5 separate regions of the Homo sapiens genome follow, and regions 1, 3, 4 and 5 are each linked to region 2. The links are contacts of gene promoters, found by promoter capture Hi-C in human tissues and cell types (Jung and others, 2019). All regions are on one chromosome and are shown on one strand. Each heading gives the region's core, a stretch centred on a gene start or on the middle of the fragment in contact. The rest is flanking DNA. Distances are from core to core; before and after follow the strand shown. Region 1 has its middle 83 kb from the start of LINC02855. Region 2 holds the start of HAS2 (hyaluronan synthase 2). Region 3 has its middle 100 kb from the start of LINC02855. Region 4 has its middle 230 kb from the start of HAS2. Region 5 has its middle 160 kb from the start of HAS2.

Region 1 (2,700 bases), core at 91-2,590, 140 kb after region 2:
CTTTGTACAAACACCCGTACCATGGCCTAGTCTTCTGCCTTTGGTTTGCTCAATATTTGGAGAAGGGTCCTTCTGTTCATCTTGTACTAATAGAACCAGTCAAGCCATTTTGTGGTGATTTCTAGCAAGAGACTAGTCTATTCTTCCTTACCTAGAGAAGTAAGAAATTTGATGTTTATTTAAAAATTATCATCTAGGTAAATAGATTTTTTTTTGGTGACATAGATATATCTCTTGAATAATTACAAAACAACTAAACAACCCCAAAAATAAATTTATGTGATTATATGATTAATCCTACCACTTCTATAAATGGCAGGACTTATAAGTGATTAAATCATTGTTTTAATAAGTGATGAATAGCATAAACTCACCATTCTTAGCCAGACTAAGAATGTAGTTATATATTTATGTCATAAGTAAGACAACTTAAGAATTACCATGAACTCCTATTCTAAATATTAGATAAATATATGAATAATAAATATATGAATACATTTCTTACGTATTTATCTTATCTTATGCCATGGCCCTTTTCTATACAAAGCTCTCTGTGTTTCATTTTCGGGTGCAGAACTTCTCCAGGAATGGAATTGAAGTCTATTTCTCTCCAAAGTTCTGATCACAGTGAACGTAATAAAAAAAAATTATTGAACACGTGGATCTAGTAATGAAACACTTGAAAGGCATTATAAAGTAGCACGAACATATATGAATGTTTCATTTTGCTAATGAACTAGATTTCTGAAAGATTCACTAGTAGTTCTTTAAATGCTGATTTAGGCTACTACATTGGTCTGTTCAAAAAAATTAACAAGATTAAATTTTTTAAAAAAGTAATTCTAAAACCTTACAGAAGAAAATTAGGAAAAATAATAAGAGAGCAATCATACACTGGTTAAATAAATTAGAGAATAACCATAAAATAGACCACTAAGAAACTGTTTAAAATGAGGTATTTCTATGTGACTGGACATGGAATAATGTTCATTATATATTGTGAATCAAGATAAGTTTCAGGAAAATATACTTAGTGCAAATGCTACCCTTTCATTTTCTCAGACCTTGGGATTGTCCCTGAGTCTTCTCTTTCTCTCACGTTCTGCTTTCAATATTTCAGGAGGGAATCTTTTTCTTTGGTTCTACTTTCTTTTTTTTTTGAGACAGAGTCTCGCTCTGTCGCCCAGGCTGGAGTGCAGTGGCACGATCTCAGCTCACTGCAAGCTCCGCCTCCCGGGTTCACACCATTCTCCTGCCTCAGCCTCCCAAGTAGCTGGGACTACAGGCGCCCGCCACCACACCCAGCTAATTTTTTGTATTTTTAGTAGAGATGGGGTTTCACCGTGTTAGCCAGGATGGTCTCGATCTCCTGACCTCGTGATCCACCTGCCTCAACCTCCCAAAATGCTGGGATTACAGGCTTGAGCCACCACTCCCAGCCACTACTTTCAAAGTATATCCAGAATTTGCTGTTGTCTCACACCTCCACTGCTACCACTCTGATCCATGACACCACCCCTCTATGCAATAGGCTCTTAACAGTTCTCCTTTCCTTTGCCTCTCTTTAGTCTGTTCTCAATTTACAGTTAAAGTAATTTCTTAAAACAAAGGTCATTATCATGTTTACTGGTTTGCTCAAATCCTCCACTGGCTCTCACCTCATGCAAAACTAAAGCCAAAGCTCCTACAATGCAGCACAATTGCTTCCATGATCTAGTGTCCTATTATCCCCTTGCACTTCTATTCTTGTTCTATTCTTCTAGTCTCACTCTTGCTCCGCCTGTCTCTTTTCTGGCCCTAAAATATGCCAGCCATTCCACCATAGGCCTATTTCATATATCTGGAATGATCTTATACCAGACATCCATGGGGCTAACTCGCTCACTTCCTTTACGTCTTTCTTTATATGTCACCGTTTCAGTGAAGCCTACCTCAATCACCCTGTTTTAAAATCGCAACCCATGTTCCCAGACTTATCCCTAGTGTCTCACACGTCTGTGTAAAGAGACCACCAAATAGGCTTTGTGTGAGCAACAAGGCTATTTCTTTCACCTGGGTACAGGCAGGCTGAGTCCAAAAAGAGAATCAGCAAAGGTGGTGGGATTATCTTTAGTTCTTATAGGTTTTGGGGATAGGCGGTGGAGTTAAGAGCAATGTTTTGTGGGCAGGGGGTGGATCTCACAAAGTACATCCTCAAGGGTGGGAGAATTACAGAGAACCTTCTTAAGGGTGGGAGGATTACAAAGAACCTTCTTAAGGGTGGGGAGAATTACAAAGAACCTTCTTAAGGGTGGGAGGATTACAGAGAACCTTCTTAAGGGTGGGAGGATTACAGAGAACCTTCTTAAGGGTGGGAGGATTACAGAGAACCTTCTTAAGGGTGGGAGAATTACAGAGAACCTTCTTAAGGGTGGGAGGATTACAGAGAACCTTCTTAAGGGTGGGAGGATTACAAAGAACCTTCTTAAGGGTGGGAGGATTACAGAGAAACTTCTTAAGGGTGGGAGGATTACAGAGAACCTTCTTAAGGGTGGGAGAATTACAGAGAACCTTCTTAAGGGTGGGAGAATTACAGAGAACCTTCTTAAGGGTGGGAGGATTACAGAGAACCTTCTTAAGGGTGGGAGGATTACAGAGAACCTTCTTAAGGGTGGGAGGATTACAGAGAACCTTCTTAAGGGTGGGAGGATTACAGAGAAC
Region 2 (2,700 bases), core at 96-2,595:
AGAGGAGGGATGCGCGCCCTCCTCCCGCTCCTATCTGCGGGTGCCACCGCCTGCGTCAGGGACCCCTGGCCCGAGTAAGCCCAGACTGACGAGCCTGACACTTTAATGGGGTGCGGGAAGTGCAAAGGAGGGGAGGCCCGGGAAAGGGGGGAGTGGCCGAGAGGGGATGGTAGCTGCGAGGAGGTAGAGAAGGACCCTCCTTCTCCAGGGTCCCAGCTTGTCGGAGCTGGAAGCCCAGATTGCTTAACCCTTTGCATTCCCAGCAAGAAGCGACTTTTTCACTTAGAAGTAAAACGCGCTGGGCTATTCCAGTTTTTCTCCCCACAGTGTGTGTGTGTGTGTGTGTGTGTGGGAAAAAAAGAAGGGAAGGGGTGGGGCGGCTGTGCAGAATGCATTTTCCTTACATTGGGAATTCTTGTTTCCTAACTCTGGAGCCCCTCTGCTGCTCCGGAAGATGCAAAATGGAAAAGTACATCTGAGGACGTGCAGCCTTTCCCAGGCAGAGAGGCTACCTGTGTCCCCAGAAAGGCAGCGGATTTCTGGCGAGAGCCGCAGAAATGGGAAAAGAGGGCTATGTTGCTAAGCCTGACAGTGACCTGAAATATTCCCTGATCTTCAGTCTGTTGGAAATTTTTAAACTTCCAACTTTTCTATCGAAACTGGCTTAAAAATTTTAAAACAATTATAAGGATGTCTTCCTTCTCCCTGGCCTGTTGGAGGACCTTCATCCTTCACCAAAACGCGCCAGTGTAACGTACCTTGTTCAGCTCTTGGTCATAAAGTCGTCCTCAGCCTGTCTGTGTGGTCCCGGAGGGTCGGTGGCGGGCAGTTTCCAAAATTGAGGTAATAAGAGATCAGATGAATTTGAGACGACCGGCCAAAAAAAATAAGAAATTTAAAAACAACATTTAAAAAGGATAGGGGAGTCTTAAATGTTTGATTCTTCCCCACTTTAAAAAATAATTTCACTAATATTCTCTTTATGTTTCCGTTGCACTTCAGTCTAATTCTTAAAAAAATTATGCTTTAAAAATAAATTAACTTTTCTTTTTTCTTTTCTTTTCTTTTTTTTTTTTTTTTTTTTTTGGGCTTCAGTCTTTCTGCCCCCGATAACAGAAAATCTCTTTTTCGTCTTAAAAAAAAAAAAAAAAAAAAAAAAAGCCTGTGGAAGACTCAGCAGAACCCAGGAAGCGCAGAATTGGGAGAAAAGTCTTTGGCTGGGGCTGTTTCAAGTCTCTGGTTCAATGGGCTGCTCGAAGCCAGGACTGGGTAATTCTTTCCAGACGTCTTGACTTCTCCTTCCCCGCCGTTGTTGCCCTTCTGCCTCCTCCAACTTAAGGGGGTCTTAACAAGTGAGCTGGTGGGTGTTTTAATAGGGCGGCGGAGGGAGTGGGGGGGTGAGGGAAGTGGAGAGGGAGGTGTGGACTGGGGAACCCTGAGGGGAGGGAACTGGGAGCGCGGGCGGGCGGGCGAGCGGGAGGCGGGGAGGGGGAGAGGGAGAGAGAGAAATTGGCCATTCAAAGCCTTCTCTGAGCTACAGGCCGGTTCTAAACTCCAATGAATTCAATTAACTTGATTGCTAACGTGTGCAGAGAAATGCAAGACACATAGGGGGCCACCACCTGATTCCTTACTTTCCTCTGGCGGCGGAGGTGGGAGCCCTCGCCTCTTGGATTTCCCTGAACTCCCGCGTTACAAGTTCCCTCCAAGCGATAAACTCCCTGTGGCGCTGAAGTAATTTGTTTTAAAGCCAAATGGTGCCCTTCAGCTAAGTAACCGACCCAAGGAGGAACAGTTGGGAGGGGTGTGTGCACGTGTGTGTGTGTGTGTGTAAGTGTGTGCGTGTGTGTGTGTACCTGGAGCCTTCGACAGCCGGCTGGGACTCTAAAAAGATCGCGCTGGTCCACCACTTGTTAACCCTTTCTTCCCGCCAACTCAAAAGTTTCTGAGCTGACGTCAAGTGTCAAAGCCTTTCTCATAAAGAGGTTTCTGCCGTGGGTGGGCGGAAAACATAGAAAAGTAATTATATGTATATTTTTGCTCAATCTGGTCCCCTAACGTAAACATACTCAAACAGCGCGCATTAAAAATAAAATAATAAAAATTGTTTTCTGGAGGACTTATATTTAGCCATCTTGAAGGAAATGGCTTAACTGGCTTTTGCTTTTTGCAAGCCTTCTGCAAAGTTGACGAGGACAAATATGTCTTGCTTGGAGATGGCCTTTCCTCGTCGTTTTCACAATGCCCCAAGGCTGGGTAGAGTTCGTTTTTTGGTTACTCCTCCCCCCACCACTCCGCCTCCTTTCTTTCTCTTGGACCTTGCCAACAAGCCTGCTGATGACTGAAAATGGACAGTAGGTGGCACTGTTGAGGAAAAAATGAGAGTGACTTTACAAATTAACCAACTTGGTCTTGGGAGATTGCGCTGAAATTGTTATAGGGTAAAACAGATTTTTCTTTCTTTCTTTTTTCCTTCTTCCCCTTCCAAGGATCTTCTGAGGGGTGGACTTCTTTGGAACTCGACAGGACCTTGAAGACTGGGTTCTTAGTCCTTATCACATATATGGGCTATAATGAATAAGTCTAAACAGAAAAGTCGAATAAACTGGAAATGATGCTTTCATCACGTCGCACAAGGTGTAGTGTTGGGGGATGTGATTAGGGGTCAAGCATTTTAGTGCAATACCAGGTAGTCAGCCA
Region 3 (2,700 bases), core at 40-2,539, 160 kb after region 2:
ATATGACACAACTGGAGAAGCTCATTTATAAAAACAAAAGTTATCACTGCCATGAGATTTTTCCAGAAAAAAAAAAAAGTTTGGTTTATGTAAATTAGCCAGTAGTTAAAGTGGGAAGATACTTACTCAGTTTTCTAAGGGAAATAAAATCAACACCTTAACTTTCTGTTTTTGGGTCTTTTGCAAATAAAAACAAAATGACTTGCAGAAAGAATTCTTCTCCTTCTTTTCCTTCTTTTATCTCTATCTTCCCTTCTTCTTAATTTCCTATAAACTTGGTTTCGTATTTGTATATGCCATTGTTACGTTTATTTTTATTTCTTTTTTTTAAAAAATATGTCATTTTGTTTTGTTTTGTTTCAATGTTATATTTCCAGGGTCTAGATCACCTAGTATCTAATAGCTGCTCAAAAATATTTGTTGAGTGAAAATGAGTAAATTAAGTAATACTGACTGTAGAAAATGTGAAAAATACCCGCCCCCCCCTCAGAAGAAGTATATGAAAGAACCAGAAAAGCCAGATTTTTATTGTGCTGGACTTTCCCTTCGTTTATCAATACCTGCACAAAACATGCCCTTAGGATTGTGACTGTCCTTAAGCAGTTTTGCATCTAGGTTTGTTCCTCTTTGAAGTCTACTAAGGAGCTGAGCAGAGCTAGAAAGTCTAACAGAAGCAAGCCAAGTAGAGGTAGACTTTAAAATGTAATTATCCTGGACTCCACGGGCTTTAAAAAAGTTCTTTTGTGGCTAGAAAATGAACGTTATTTATCCAAAAGGTTGCAGCTGTTAAATTCTCTTGAGAAAATACAAAGTCAAACCTATCCATGCCAGTTTTTTTTTTTTCTGATTGCCTAACTTCAATGATTCAGAGATAAAATCCCAAAATAGGCATTTATAAAGGCAAGAGTGAGAGAAATAAAAGACTCAGAACTGGGGTTGGTACTCAGTGTTGCTAGTTCTCGAACTACAAACCGCCAAGCTATTCTTCTTCTAATTTCCCCAGTTTGCCTGAGTAAGAGTCTTTTTTCCAGTCAAAACAGTCACAGACATTTTTGTATAATCTACTCTGTTCTGTCTCCATTGGTGGTAATTTCTAAAAGCCAGAATAACGAAAGCCCTGAATCAAATAATGCAACCAAAAAACTTTTAAGCCCTCCAATAAAGAGAGAAAACAAAAAGTAAGAAGAGAAAATGTATTTTCCCAGGAATGTCCACATCTCCACAGACTCCGTTTTCAAAGTGGATTTTCTTTGAATAGGGTTTGGATTTGGCAACAGCCTATTAGGATATAATGCTCTACTCACAATTCTTCAAGAAAAGATCTAAGGTTTTATAGTTTTCCCATTTTTCCCAGAGATGGGTAGAGCCAAGAAGAACGGGTGAAGGAAAGTGGGCAAAAGATTGTGAAAGTCGGAAAAAACTTGCTGGAACCTATCCAGTCATCTTCAAAGGATAACCTCTTCCAAACAGAGCAAACCTTCAGGGGAAGATTATGCAAAGCCCCTGCCTTCCAGCACCCCTGAAAGCCCACCACCCTAGTCCATTCAGATTTGAGGATTAAGAAAATTAGGGGAATGAATGAATCTATTTATCTATGGTCCATGTCAAGAATTGTTCTTCTGGGCCATTCTGGTTTGGATCCTGTGGCTTTTTTGGTGGTGTGATCGTTGCTTTTATGTTTTTTCAGGGGTGGGGGTGCATCTGCATTATCTGATAGTTCTGTGTTTATTTTTTTCCACAAAGATGCTTAATTGTGTAACTCCTGGCTAGGTTTCCCTAGCCAAATGATAGAAATCAGAGTTGGAAAAGACCTATTAGGTCATTTTTACCCTAACTCCTGCCAGTGAGAATTTTGCCTCTAATATGCTAGATGAAGTGTCCACCCCTTCCCTTGGGAGATTAGATTCTACAATTTAATTAGTTCACACTGCCAACATATTTTCTCTGACGTTCAATTTACAATTAATATCATTGTTTTTCTTAATTCAGTTCTCACAAATTATGTGTTTACTTTCTCTTATTGTCTTCCAACTTTAATCACTGATAAGCTTATTTTCTTATTTCTCCCCAAATATGCTCATTTATTAATTTTTTCTAGAATGTTCAGTTTATTTGTTAACATTTGTTATTTTTTGCACAACGCTGTATCTCTTTGATACAGAGATAATGACGGCTTCAAATTTCCCAACATGGCACATTAACAGGGATGTGTAGAGTACAATTAAGCAGAAAACCAAGACATGTTAATTTTTCCTTAAAATTCAGGCTTCATCAATATTTTGTTTCTATTTTCTGTAAGTTCCTGGCAGAGCAGTTAGTAGCCTGAGATATGTCGGCAATTCTCAGTGTCTCAGCTTTTCAGTTCTGTGTGTGTGCACGCGTGTGTGGTGTTTGTATGTGTCAAATTTTCTGCTGTGAAAACCCTGGCACAGATACCCAGATGAGATAAGGCAGGCAAAGATAAGACATAAGAAGGGAGGAAGAACACTATAATAATGAATTTAGGGACTGGAGAAACTCAGCTACCCACCAGGAAACTTTACTCACTGACAAGATTAACCCTTTTTAGGCTGACGTGAATCATTGTGGGCTGAGGCTGTCCAGTGTACCCATGTAGCAGACCTCTTGAGTAGGTAGCTCTCTACAGCAAGGCATTGCTCTCCTGGGATTTTACATCTTCATTGCCTAAGTCCCTGGCTC
Region 4 (2,700 bases), core at 169-2,668, 230 kb before region 2:
AATCGCTTGAACCCAGGAGATGGAAGTTGCAGTGAGTCGAGATTGTGCCACTGCACTCCATCCAGCCTGGACAACAGAGGGAGACTCCATCTCAAAAAAATAAATAAATAAAAATAAAAGTTTGAGAAGGTAATTCAGTCTTGCTTCTTACCTCCTTCTAGCCAGTTCCACTTGGTAGCATCATGACACAAGCATTATTTTATTAATAATTCAAGTGTGGAATAAGCTAAAGCTTCTTCCAGGCAGGAGGAGACAGCAGTTAGGCCAAGATAGAACAACTCAGAATTTCCTAAACTAGGATCTTTGGTCCTCTGGGGATCCCCAGGCGTATTCCCAAAGGTTCATGAGATTTTTCAATTTAGGAATTTCATATCAATGGTAAACTAAAACTATTTACATAAGCACATTTTTGACCACCCGATGGCAATCTCAAAATCAATCATTGCCCTTATATGGGAGAATCTTCATAGTGTTTTGGTTTGTTTTTTTGAGTATGTTATACCCAAGTAGTTCTACTTTATCATTGGCTTAAGTGAAAAAAAAATGGAGGAAGAATTACTGTGTAAACAGTGAATTTCTGCTAAGTGAGGGCCAAGTGACATCATGTTAGGGTTTTGCAGTGGTTGGAACAGAGCAAAGTGGTGGAAAAATTGACAGATCTCATGGCACACAGATGTATGGGTATGATGACCACAAGAGAACTTGAACCTTAGCTGTGAGTATGATGTTCACTTGTGAGTGGTTTTTAGTTTCAAGAGAACAACAACATCCATCACATTAAATAAATGTTAGAAAACTGAATTTAACTGTGTTGCATCTTTCACCTGCATTGAATTAGTAAATGTGTTTGAATGTTATAGCTTAAGTCATTTACATGCATAAGGAGTTATAAGCAGGTTTTGATTTGCACATATTTTAGCAACATGCTAATAATCATTTAAGGCAACACTGGTATTTATTAAACATAACTTTTGTTTCTTTTAAAAGGTATCTGTTAATTACTCAGGTTTGAAAATTGCTAAAATAATAAAAAGAACACAGGCTTTGGAATCAAATAAAACTGGGTGCAAGGCCTACTTCCTCCACTCCCTAAGTGTGTTACCATGGGCGAGTTGCTTGACTTTTCTAAGCCTTGGGTGTCTCGTCTTATTCATCTCTTCCTATGTGTAAGAAATGTTCAAGGTACAGAAACTATAATAATTCTTACTGTTAAAGCAATCCTATGAAATGGAAACTAATGCTATTTTTATTTACAGGTGAGAAAACTGAGACAGAAATCAAGCAATTTGTACAAAGTCACCCAACTAGTAAAACATGGGCCTATATAATCTGACTCCAGAGCTCAATCTTTAAAAGAAAAATTATGGGTACATAGTAGGTATATATATTTATGATGTACATAAGATATTTTGTTACAGGCATACAATGCATAATAATCACTCAGGGTAAATAGGGTATTCATTACCTCAAAAACGTATCATTTCTTTGTGTTACAAACATTCCAGTTACACTCATTTAGTTATTTAAAAATGTACAAAAAAATTATTGTTGAAGGTAGTCACCCTGTTGTGCTATCAAAGACTAGATCTTACCCATTTTATCTAACTATACTTTTATGCCCATTAACCATCCCCACTCCACTGCCCCCACTACCCTTCCCAGCCTCTGTTAACCATCCTTGTACTCTCTATCATGATGAGTTCAACTGTTTTAATGTTTAGCTCCCACAAATGAGTGAGAACATGCAAAGTTTGTCTTCTGTTCCTGGTTTATCTCACAGAGCATAATGTCATCCAGTTTCCTCCACGTTGTTGTACATGACAGGATCTCACTTTTTTTCTTTAGATAAGAGTCTCGCTGTGTCGCCAGGCTGGAGTGCAATGGTGCGATCTCGGCTCACTGCAACCTCCACCTCCCAAGTTCAAGCGATTCTTCTGCCTCAGCCTCCCAAGTAGCTGGGATTACAGGCGCACGCCACCACGCCTGGCTAATTTTTGTATTTTTAGTAGAGACAGGGTTTCACCATGTTGGTCAGGCTGGTCTCGAACTTCTGACCTCGTGATCCACCCGTCTCAGCCACCCAAAGTGCTGGGATTACAGGCGTGAACCACCGCACCTGGCCCGGATCTCACTTTTTAATGGCTGATTGGTACTCCGTTACGTATATATGTACTACATATCCATTCATCTGTTTTGTTTTGTTTTTTTGACGGAGTCTCACTGTGTTGCCCAGGCTGGAGTGTAGTGGCATGATCTCGGCTCACTGCAAGCTCTGCCTCCTGGGTTCACGCCATTCTCCTGCCTCAGCCTCCTGAGTAGCTGGGACGACAGGTGCCCGCCACCACGCCCGGCTAATTTTTTGTATTTTTAGTAGAGACGGGGTTTCACCGTGTTAGCCAGGATGGTCTCGATCTCCTGACCTCGTGATCCGTCCGCCTCGGCCTCCCAAAGTGCAGGGATTACAGGCGTGAGCCACCATGCCCCGCCCCATTCATCTGTTGATGTACACTTATGTTGCTTCTAGGTCTTGGCTATTCTGAACAGTGCTGCAATAGAGAGGGCACTGCAGATATCTCTTTGATATACTGTTTCCTTTCTTTTGGGTCTATACCTAGCAGTGGGATTACTGGATCATATGGTAGTTTTATTTTTAGTTTTTTGAGAAACATTCATACTGTTCTCTCTAGTGGCTACACTAAT
Region 5 (2,700 bases), core at 181-2,680, 160 kb before region 2:
AATTCATTTTTTTTTTTTTGAGATGGAGTCTCGCAGTTGCCCAGGCTGGAGTGCAATGGCGCGATCTCGGCTCACTGCAGGCTCCGCCCCCCGGGGTTCACCCATTCTCCTGCCTCAGCCTCCTGAGTAGCTGGGACTACAGGTTCCCGCCACCTCGCCCGGCTAATTTTTTGTATTTTTAGTAGAGACGGGGTTTCACCGTGTTAGCTAGGATGGTCTCGATCTCCTGACCTCGTGATCCGCCTGCCTCGGCCTCCCAAAGTGCTGGGATTACAGGCGTGAGCCCCCGCGCCCGGCCTAAATTCCCTTTTTTACCTAAGTTAGTCTGAATGAGTTGAGTGAGTTACTATCAAACTATCCCTAACTAAAAATCTATTAGGGCATTTCAATTAGAACTCAATCTCACAGTTCCTGAAACTGTTTTAAAATACTATGGTATGCTATAATATGTTAGCAAATATAGAAAAATAAATCACAGGCTAAAGTTAGACTTGCAAGCCATATACTGTTACTATACTTCATGAATTCTTCCCTCATCTATTAGCAAAATTATAGTTTTGTTTTAAGAAATAAATTTATTCCTGTGCATAAATTTTACACATTTTATTAAGAGGCCAGATTATTTAATTTCTCTAAATATTTCCTCTTTTCTTTTTTTTTTTTTTTTTTTTTTTTTTGAGACGGAAACTCGCTCTGTCACCCAGGCTGGAGTGCAGTGGCGCGATCTGGCTCACTGCAAGCTCCGCCTCTCGGGTTCATGCCACTCTCCTGCCTCAGCCTCCCGAGTAGCTGGAACTACAGGCACCCGCCACCACGCCCAGCTAATTTTTTGTATTTTTAGTAGAGACAGGGTTTCACCATGTTAGCCACGATGGTCTCAATCTACTGACCTTGTGATCCATCCACCTTAGCCTCCTAATGTGCTGGGATTACAGGCGTGAGCCACCGTGCCCGGCCTAAATATTCCTTTTTAAAAACTAAGTAAATAAGCAAAAACAATACACTCTTTTAATCAATAAATTTTACCAAAGTAGCCTGTGATTTGTAGAGTAGTATTGCTCATGCGCTTCTACTGTTAAAGAGGAAACATTTTTGAAGAGTCTATATAAACAGCCCCTAATTATTGGCTAGACACCCACAGAAGCCACCTGTGTCCCTTTAAGCTGAGCCTAAGCAATATTTGGAGACAGGACTGTTTTCTTGTGGGAATACTGGCCCAGTAATGGTGCATCTGACATTTTAATAGAACCTGAAAATATATGTTTTATATTAAATTCTACATTTTAAAATGCTGGCAGGCTATTATCAAAAAGACAAAAGGTAACAAGTGTTGGAGAGAATGTGGACAAAAGAGAACTCTTGTACACTGGTGGTGGGAATGTAAATTTGTACACTCATTATGGAAAATAATATGGAGGTTTCTCAAAAAAATTAAAAATAGAGTTACCATATAATTCAGCAATCCTTTTGCTGGGTATATAGTCAAAGGATATAAAACAATATGTCAAAGAGATATCTGCCCTCCCATATTCATTACAGTATTATTCACAATAGCCAAGATATGAGATCAACCTAAGTGTTCATTAATGGATGAATCGATAGAGAAAACTGGCTCTATATACACAATGGAAACTATGCAATCTTTTAAAAGGAGAAAATCATGTGACAGCATGGCTGAACCTGGAGGATACTATGTTAAGTGAAATAAGCCAGGCACAGAAAGACAAATACAACATGACCTGATTTATATATGGAGTGTAAAAAAATCCAACTCATAGAAACAGTAAAATGGTGGGTACCAGAGGCTGAGGGTTGGAAGATTTGAGGAGGTGTTGGTCAAAGGATACAAAAATTTCAGTGAGATAGGAGGAATAAGTTCAAGAGATCTGTTGTACGTTATGATGACTATAGTTAATAACAATGTATTACATATTTGAAAATTACTGAAAATCAATTTTAAGTGTGTCATCAAAAAAAGATAAGTATGTGAAGTAATACATGTGTTAAATAGCTTGGTTTAGCCATTTCACAATGTGTACATATATCAAGGCTTTACATTGTACACCATAAATATATATAATTTTTGTTAAATATAATTTCTTAAATAAGAATTTTAAAATAGATCTATATTCACTGGCAAAGATGCCATTTTGTATTAAGAGAAAAAAAGAAAAATCACATTGCGAAGCATGTTTCTATTTAATTAAAAATGCACACAAGAAAAAAATTAAATCAAATGCTAACAAATAATTGAATTCAAAATAAACACACACGCACACATAATTTTCATGCAAACAGACAAAAACTTCTGAAGCCCAATTTTGCCCCTTCAGCTATTGTGTCGTTACTTATGCCTTAAACTTTCATAATATGGCTTTTACTGATACTACTTGAGTATTTGGCTGCTAGGGTCCAAAAAAATTTCTGCGAGTTGCTCTAGGCCAAATAAAACTATGTTGAAAGTGGAGAATTAACATATTTGTGGGTACACATAAAAATCTGCAAGGCTATAAATACATCTGGTTCTGACATCAGCTATCAAATTACCCTTTTCACTAAAACATAAATATCATATGTTCCTACGTTTCTAATACTTTTATATGCATTATATCAAAAAAGTCAGAACTTCAAAATAATCTTCAGCCTAACATCCTAGTTTACATCCTCATAACCTCACACTTGGAATGAATCGGGAACTTC

Evidence for each region. The method cuts DNA at HindIII sites, captures the fragments that hold promoters and counts their contacts. A contact is called where the count stands out against the background at its distance.
Region 1: a contact is called between a fragment that was not itself captured here and the fragment with the promoter of HAS2 in region 2, in 2 of the 25 tissues and cell types used here (mesendoderm cells and thymus).
Region 3: a contact is called between a fragment that was not itself captured here and the fragment with the promoter of HAS2 in region 2, in 2 of the 25 tissues and cell types used here (hippocampus and mesendoderm cells).
Region 4: a contact is called between a fragment that was not itself captured here and the fragment with the promoter of HAS2 in region 2, in 3 of the 25 tissues and cell types used here (aorta, dorsolateral prefrontal cortex and heart right ventricle).
Region 5: a contact is called between a fragment that was not itself captured here and the fragment with the promoter of HAS2 in region 2, in 2 of the 25 tissues and cell types used here (IMR-90 fibroblasts and dorsolateral prefrontal cortex).

The regions. Positions count from the first base shown.
Region 1 is chr8:121,779,483-121,782,182 of GRCh38, forward strand. No RefSeq gene overlaps it. Among named protein-coding and RNA genes, the nearest start is that of LINC02855, 83 kb to the left of the region's middle. The HindIII fragment of the contact is 5,746 bases long and covers 1-2,700 here.
Region 2 is chr8:121,640,095-121,642,794 of GRCh38, forward strand. HAS2 (hyaluronan synthase 2) reads right to left here and starts at 1,346. Exons shown (of 4, transcript NM_005328.3): 1 at 759-1,346. It also overlaps HAS2-AS1. RefSeq lists an enhancer at 2,005-2,628. The HindIII fragment of the contact is 13,134 bases long and covers 1-2,700 here.
Region 3 is chr8:121,798,970-121,801,669 of GRCh38, forward strand. No RefSeq gene overlaps it. Among named protein-coding and RNA genes, the nearest start is that of LINC02855, 100 kb to the left of the region's middle. The HindIII fragment of the contact is 3,754 bases long and covers 1-2,700 here.
Region 4 is chr8:121,409,206-121,411,905 of GRCh38, forward strand. No RefSeq gene overlaps it. Among named protein-coding and RNA genes, the nearest start is that of HAS2, 230 kb to the right of the region's middle. The HindIII fragment of the contact is 3,904 bases long and covers 1-2,700 here.
Region 5 is chr8:121,481,810-121,484,509 of GRCh38, forward strand. No RefSeq gene overlaps it. Among named protein-coding and RNA genes, the nearest start is that of HAS2, 160 kb to the right of the region's middle. The HindIII fragment of the contact is 3,178 bases long and covers 1-2,700 here.